Regions from separate parts of the Homo sapiens genome. Here region 1 is linked to region 2. The links are contacts of gene promoters, found by promoter capture Hi-C in blood cells and fetal thymus (Javierre and others, 2016). All regions are on one chromosome and are shown on one strand. Each heading gives the region's core, a stretch centred on a gene start or on the middle of the fragment in contact. The rest is flanking DNA. Distances are from core to core; before and after follow the strand shown.

Region 1 (4,006 bases), core at 573-3,072, 1.4 Mb before region 2:
TATCAGAACATCGAAACTGAAGTGGATACAGAAAAATTTCCACTCAAAAGCAGTTCGTTTGTGAAAATGACCACTGGTAGATCACTTGAATTAATTTAGTTTACTCGAAGTACGTTTTAAATATGTAAAGGAAAATGCGTGGCAAAACACCTGTAGATCTTCTACAACTTTATTTGGGTAACAATTTGTCTTATAAGTATTCTTAATCATCAAAAGCAAGGAAATAACATTTCTGCTTCTTTCCATTCCATATTTCCCTACTTGGTTAAAATTTTTCAGTCTGAATTCCTCATACATTATGAATATTAGAACAAGGTACGTTACATTACCATACAATAAACAAGTTATTTTTATTTTCACTCTTCTGTATATTTCCCTAAGTGCTTCACCATCGGAATGTGCAATTTTCTTAAAACACGAGGAAAACTAAAATGTAGAGTCATTCAAATTCCAGATAAGTTACAAATCACACAACTTTGTGCCAATTCAGATACTTTCTCAAGTAAACACTATTTTTGCGAAGATGCAAGTCTTTCTAGTCAGAATCACGAGAATAAACTCTATCCATCTTAACACCAACTTTAACAGCAAATAATTTTTTTTTATGACAAATTGCGTTTTTTTTTTTTGTTTTTTTTTTGTCTGTAAGTGTCCAAAACTATCCTATGACTTATACTCCCGGAGCACGATTCCCTGCAATGTGAAGAGAATCGACAGATAACATTTCAAATGTGGGTAGATGGGGGTGACGTGACAATCCTAAAACCTGAAAATTTCTTAGTACCCATACCATACAAGAAGAACCCAGTTCGGACCCTGCAAACGGGGCTCAGGTCCAACTCCAAGCACTCTAGTTTCCCACCCCGCCCCCACCTCGAGAAAGGAGGGAAAACAACTTTTATTGGCCTCGTCTCTCAGGGGACTGGCAAACTAGCGGGGCAGTGCTTAGGCCTGGACACGTTTCACAAGGAGGCCCCCGTCGGGGGCTGAGAGGGCAGATAGCTGGAAAGCCCAGCATTGATGCATCTCCCCCAGCCGCCACCCCGCTGCCCCACCCCGCCAACAAGAAGCCTGGGCCAGCCGCCCCGCCGAGCGACCCCCCAGGCCCCTCCGCTGAAATGAACTCGTTGTCATGTGACGCCGCCGCCGCTAAAACACCGCAGAAACGCAGGTCGGCAGGCGGCGGAAGGCATTCGCGCCAGCCCGCGTCGGCCCGGCCCCGCTGGGCGCGGGCGACTCCCGAGAGCCCGGGCGGGGGGGGGCGGAGGGCGGGCTTGGCGGCGGGCCCGAGCGCGCCACAAAGGCTTCCGCGCCTGTCGCCGTAGTGCCCGGGCGGGCGGGGGCAAAATTTTTGGTGCCCGCGGGAGGGGTGGCAAGCGACGAAGACGCCGGGGTGCCCACCGCGCCCACAGACGTCTCTCCGGGCACTCGGACGGCCCACGACCGCCGCACCCCGCACAGGCCCGCGCGGCCTCCCTCCCCCGCACGGGGCCCGCGCCCGGCCCGCCCGCTCGCCGCTCGCGCTCTCTCGCTCTCGCCCGGCCTCCATCTTGGATCGGCGCTTCCAGCCCCCGCGCCGCTGCCGCCGCATTCCCCCTCTTTCCCGCCCCCCGCCGCCGTCGCCGCCGCCCGCACTCACCTCAGCTGCCCATCCGGGCGCCGCCGACCATCGACCTAGTTTCCCCCCAAAAGTCTCCGGTGTGTTATTCCCGATGTGGGGGGGTTGTTACGGGGTGGTCGCCGGGGGTTCGGGAGCGGGGGCCGCGCCTTCAACGGAGCTGCAATCCTAACCCGCCATCTGGTGGCATTTTCCACACGCCAATGGCGCCGCTGCAGACTTGGGTCCGGACCGCCCTCTGCTGGCCGCGGTGCTCACTGCCTTGCTGACGGGACGGGCCTGCCCGGAAAGGGGAGGGAGCTGAGGCGCGAGCTAGGGGCCGCGGCAGGGGCGCGCGCAAACGCTTTCCAGTGGGGATTGCGCGCACGCGCACCAGCGGGGCGGGAAACGTGGCCGCTGCGTGGCGGCCCCGCCCCCACACGGAGCGCTCGCGCAGTTCAGCCAATCGCGAGAGGCGTAGGCTTCTGGATAAGGGCGCTGTGGACGGTTCTTGGGCCGCCCGCGGCTGGCGGAAGGACGGCCACGGTGGCGCCTGCGCGTCCGGCTCGCCGAGTTGCCGCCCGCCATTTTTGGAGCTTCTTGGAGATCTAGGCAGGAACCCGCCCCGGGTTCCTTCACCGAGGCTCCTCCCTAGGTCTCAGGGCCGGCGCTTTCCTCTGTTCCCGCCCGGCTCCTGCTGCCCCCATCCGCAGCTCTCGAGACGCCCTGCGGAAACCCGAGGGTGAGGCCGCGCAGATCCCTGCTCCTACTTGGATTTAGCAAGGGCCTCAGAGCTTAGCATTGTATTCGCGATTTACGGCTGACAAGCGCTTTCACCAGGCAAGAGTGAAAAGGTTTCAAAAGGACTATTGGGGACTTCCCTCGCCATTAATCTAGACGAAACACCGCCGGCCCTAGGCCGATTGGCGTCATCCTGCCTCTGTAAAGCACATCTTTCCGTGGTGTCGGCTTTGCATAAGGCGGCAGCATTGGCTAGTTTGTGAGAGGAGAATATAACTAGACTGAGAAGATAGACTCAGCTGTGAAAGTGGATTTCTCCCTCCACAACCTAGGACTACTTTCAGTAGCTCTGAAATACACATGAGAATCTTAGCCTTCTAGATGCCAAAAGAGAAATAATCAGTAAGGTGAAATCATTAACAAACTATTTATGTTTAACGTCGCCTCTTCCCTGATCTCCACCTGCCCGTCCGTGGCCATGGATCCCTACCTTTCACCTGCTTACAACTTTTCACCACAAAAGTGAATCCTTACTCTCCTGGATCATTAGCCCCATATATGACTAACTTCTCTATCGCTATAGCCAACTCTATTTCAGTATGGAATCGCTCAACTACTTTATAGTCTTAAGGGCCTGTCTCCAGTAGGTTACCCCTATTTGTGTTTTCTCTCTCAAGGGTTTGCAAGATGTGTGGCTTTTCGCTGGAGGAAGTCATAACTGACCAGATTGGATATGAATTCGTGACTGGACTCCTACTTATAATTTTCTTGCGTTTTCTTCTAATCTCTGGCTGATCTCCTATTTTCCACAAAGACTGTTTCAAGCTTTCCATGTTGTTAAAGATGCCAGTCCCAGTCCATACTAATAGATAAATTCATCCAGTTTCCTGGGCTCAGAGCTATGGGACTCCAATTCCGGTTTGACCTTGCCTCCATTATAAAATATCTGTGACCACCTCCTGTTCGTGATCCCAAAACTTCTAACCAAATTAACCCAGAACCCTTCTCTCCAAAGCCACTCCCTCTGCCTGAAACTATGCCATCCCTTCCCACCTTCTCCTTCCACCACTACTTTCCTAGCGCCTTATAATGTAAATATGTTCTTATCCACTGTCTTCTTCCTTTCTGTTTCTCAGAAGTTTCTGTTGTCTTGGCTGGGTGCGGTGGCTCACACCTGTAATACCAGCACGTTGTGAGGCAGAGGCGGGCAGATAACATGAGGTCAGGAGTTCGAGACTACCCTGGCCAACATGGTGAAACCCTGTCTCTACTAAAAATACAAACAGCCAGGCGTGCTGGTGTGCGCCTGTAATGCCAGCTACTCGGGAGGCTGAGGCAGGAGAATCTCTCGAACCCGGGAGGTGAAGGTTGCAGTGAGCCGAGATCACGCCACTGCACTCCAGCTTGGGCGATAAGAGTGAGACTCTGTCTCAAAAAAAAAAAGTTTCTTTTGTCTTTTTTTTTTTTTTAATTCAGTGATGTTACTCCCTCCAGTTGCTATGCTATCAACGTTCCTTTCATTGACACATTCTCAAAAGAAACAGTTACGGTTTTCACCAATCCCCATCCCCTACTTGAAACCCTTTTTCCCTTTCTTTTAAGACACTTCCCCGGATCTACACCTACCTAGTTTGCTGGTCTTCTGATTTCTTTGCTAGCACCTCCTCT
Region 2 (4,028 bases), core at 1,068-3,567:
AGGGATGAAAAGGCTATATAGTTTATAGGGGCCAATATTGAGACAATCTAATCAAATCTGAAAATCTAAAAGCAGATTATAGGAAATGCAAAGGATAAAAGGAATCCAATCAGCTAAATCCTGAATGCAGGAAATGCTGCAAGACAAATTTCCTGTTTTCTTCAGCAAGTAAATGGCATGAAAAAGCGAGACAGGGAGACTATTTTAGTCTAATAGACTTCAGAGTCATGACAACCAAATGAAATGGGCTGGCCTTGTCTGGGTCCTATTTAAACCAATTGTAAAGCAGACATCTTTACATTAAGCAGGGAAATCTGACCACGAACATGGCAATAGATAATGATTACTTCAGTTAAGTATAATAACAGTACTGTAGTAGTATTTTTAAAGATCCTTATCACTTAAAAACATGTACTGAAATATGTATAAGTGAAATAATCTAACGGTTGGACTTGCTTTAAATACTCTAGTCATCTCTTCCCACAAAAAAAAAAAAAAAAATCCAGGAGATTGCAATATAATAGTCGTTGAAGCTGGTTAACAGGTACTGAGATTCATCATACTATTCTCTACTTTTGTGTATGCTTAAGAATTTCTATTAATAAAAGTTTAAGGTCTTTAATTCAATAAAAATTGTAAGAAAAAATGAAGGGACTACAAATAGTGTGTGAGGTCTTTGCAATTATATTAGCTAGTGCTTAAAACACTAGATGAAGGGCATATTTTCATGATCAACCATTTAATAATTAACTATCTTAATTAAATTTTCACGATTAAGTATTTAAATTAATGACATTCTCCAAACACCATACATGTCAAGACACAGTCCAACTAACGCAAATCCTGATAAGCTCTTCCATCCCAGGAAAAAAAAGTATCCACAAACACAATCACATACCTAAATAATAAATGTTTGGTGCCACCCAGCCACCATAGGGTAACTCTTGCAAATGATTTGAGGCTTCATGGTTTCCCCCAATGAAGAGCGTGAGAACTGGAGCCTTTTTCTCTCCAGAGTAATACCTAGAACATAAGAGCAAAGTCAGTTACCACAATTAGGCATAGCAGAAAAGCAAATAAGTTCCGAAAAAAAAAAAGAAACTGAGTTCATCATAAAAAGTTAAAAAGCTCTTTCAAAAGGAATTGCCTGGGGCTGGGCGCGGTGGCTCCCTCCTGTAATCCCAGCACTTTTGATGGCCGACACAGGCGGATCCCCTGAGGTCAGGAGTTCGAGACCAACCTGGCCAATGTGGTGAAACCCCGTCTCTACTAAAAATGCAAAAATTAGCTGGGTGTAATCCCAGCTACTCGGGAGGCTGAGGTGGGAGAATCGCTTGAACCCAGGAGACGGAGGTTGCAGTGGGTCAATATCGCGGTACTGCACTCCAGCCTGGGCAACAAAGCGAAACTCTGTCTCAAGAAAAAAAAAAAAAAAAAAAAAAGGAATTGCCCAGTATCCATCCTTGCCCTTAGGAATGAAGAGCTTCCACCTTGAGCCTCAAGTCAGTGCCCGTTCAATTAAGTCAAGAACTGTTTCGAGTTCATTGCCATAACCTCATCTTCTAGAACCACAACAAGCACATAGCAGGGGCCCAGTAAAAACTTCAGGATCATTGAATGAACTAATTCCAGAGTCCTATCAAGTACAAGGTAGCTATCTAAACCTGTCAGCTTCTTCCTCCAGGTTATCCCCTCCCAGGCTTCGACACCCTTTGAAATGGATAAGATGTGTATGGAAAGAAGGAAAGTGACATTTCCTAAGCACCTAATGAGATAGGGTGCTAGTGAAACTGACATAATTTGGTACCTAACTGAATACAGTACCGAACTGAATACATTTCCCGCCTCCCACTACCTCACCCCTGTATTCAGTTAGGCACCAATTAGAGATACAGAGAGAACAAAGACAGGATCTAAGGGAAACAGGCAGCCAGTGGCAGAGGGAACCCAGTCCCACCCCCCCACCGCCAAGTCCGGGCCCGGCCGCGTCCTCACCTGTAGAAGGTTTGCATGTGACGATACTTGGGCGGCACGGCCATGCAGCGTAGATCCGCCTCGTTGCGCACCGCCTGGAAGTCGCCGCAGCACAGCAAGAGGTCGACAGGCCCCGGGCCGCGCCGCTCTGCCAGCGCCAGCGTCTCATAGATCTTATCCAGCTCGCCGTGGCAGCAGCCAGCCACAGCCACCCGCATTCTGCCGGCCTGAGGAGGTGAGCGCTGCCTGCAACGCCCTACACCACAGCCAGCCCAGGACCGACTGATCGCTCAGCTCCCGCCAACTTTAATAAGTATAGCCACCGCCTGGGTGTAGACTCCTGCAAAATAATTCACTTCCGGTTTCCAGATCTCGCGAGAGAGGGACCGGGAAGGTCAAACCTAATTCTGGGATCCCAGGGAACTTATTTTCTTTTTTTCCTTTTTTCTTTTTTTTTAATTATTGTTTTATGCAGTCAATATTTTTTTGTATATACATCCACAAATGTACTCTTTCCATCCTTACTCTTTTCTTCCTGGATTTCCATTTTTCTCTTTGGAATCATTTTTCTTCTGTCTGAAGAGCTCAGTTTAAGTTTTCCTGTTTGTTTAGTGTAGGCCGACGACAGATTAATTTTTTTCTAGATATTTGTTTGTTTAAAAATTTCTTTCCACTCTGGGGAAAATGGTGAAACCCTGTCTCTACTAAAAATACAAAAATTAGCTGGGCGCAGTAGCGCACGTCTGTAATCACAGCTACTTCAGAGGCTGAGGCAGGAGAATCCCTCAAACCCAGGAGACGGAGGTTGCAGTGACCTGAGATCGCGCCCCTGCACTCCAGCTTGGGCGACAGAGCGAGACTCCGTCTAAAAAAAAAAAAAAGAGACAAAAGAGAAAGAGAGAGAGAAGAAAAGAAAAGAAGCCAGTGTGCTGGCTCACACCTGTAATCCCAGCACTTTGGGAGGCAGAGGCGGGCGGCTCACGAGGTCAGGAGTTTGAGACCAGCATGGCCAACATGGTGAAACCCTGTCTCTACTAAAGATACAAAAAATTAGCTGGGCGTGGTGGCGCACACCTGTAATCCCAGCTACTTGGGAGGCTGGGGCAGGAGAATCGCTTGAACCCAGGAGGCAGAGGTTGCAGTGATCTGAGATCGTGCCATTGCACTCCAGCCTGGGTGACAGGGTGAGACTCCGTCTAAAAAAAAAAAAAAGAAAAAGAAAGAAAGAGATGTCTTTGTTTCACCTTAATTCATAAAGGGTGTGTTTACTGAGTACCGAATACCAGTTAAGCAGTGTGTGTGTGTGTGTGTGTGTGTGTGTGTGTGTGTGGTTTTTTTTTTACAAAGCATTTCAAAAATAGCATTCTATTATCTTCTGGCTTGCATTATCTTCTACTGAGAAGTCACCTATAAACTTAAGGTTTTTTTTCACTGAAAGTAATGTGGGTTTTTTGTTTGTTTGTTTGTTTTTTGTTTTTTTGAGACGGTCTCTCACTCTGTTGCCCAGGCTGGAGGCAGTGGCACGATCTCGGCTCACTGCAACCTCCGCCTCCCCAGTTCAAGCGATTCTCCTGCCTCAGCCTCCCAAGTAGCTGGGATTACAGGTGCACACCACCATGCCCAGCTAATTTTTTGCATTTTTAGTAGAGACAGGGTTTCACCATGGTGGCCAAGCTGGTTTCGAACTCCTGACCTCAAGTGATACGCCCACCTCGGCTTCCCGAAGTGCTAGGATTACAGGCGTTAGCCACCGCGCCCAGCCAGTAATGTGTCTTTTTCTTTGCTATTTACTGTTTTCTCTTTCTCTACTTTCTCTCCCTACTCCTTAAAGCTATTTTAATAAAATATATCTAGGTGGTTTTTTTTTTGAACTTTACTCATTTATGCTTTCTGAATCTATAGCTTGGTATCTTTTTTCAGTTTTGGAATATTCTTGGTCAGTATCTACTTAAATGTTGCTTTTTTTTCTGTCTTTTCCTACTCCTTTGGAATTTTTCCATGGTATTTTACCTATCTTTTATTTCTATTCCATAGTTCTCATTTTTATCAGTGTT

The links. Contacts are between HindIII fragments. The CHiCAGO score rates a contact against its expected background, and 5 or more counts as called.
Region 1: a contact is called between the fragment with the promoter of STAG1 here and the fragment with the promoter of DBR1 in region 2, in 1 of 17 cell types (total B cells). The highest score is 5.6, in total B cells.

Annotation. Positions count from the first base shown.
Region 1 is chr3:136,750,556-136,754,561 of GRCh38, forward strand. It overlaps STAG1 (STAG1 cohesin complex component), which reads right to left and starts at 1,823. Exons shown (of 34, transcript NM_005862.3): 1 at 1,640-1,823. It overlaps STAG1-DT (STAG1 divergent transcript), which reads left to right and starts at 2,116. Exons shown (of 1, transcript NR_185911.1): 1 at 2,116-4,006. RefSeq lists silencers at 1,147-1,526, 1,847-2,076 and enhancers at 1,268-2,199, 2,087-2,406, 2,200-3,131. The HindIII fragment of the contact is 7,208 bases long and covers 1-3,161 here.
Region 2 is chr3:138,172,604-138,176,631 of GRCh38, forward strand. It overlaps DBR1 (debranching RNA lariats 1), which reads right to left and starts at 2,318. Exons shown (of 8, transcript NM_016216.4): 1 at 1,996-2,318; 2 at 899-1,023. The coding sequence starts at 2,192. RefSeq lists an enhancer at 2,024-2,233. The HindIII fragment of the contact is 14,113 bases long and covers 1-4,028 here.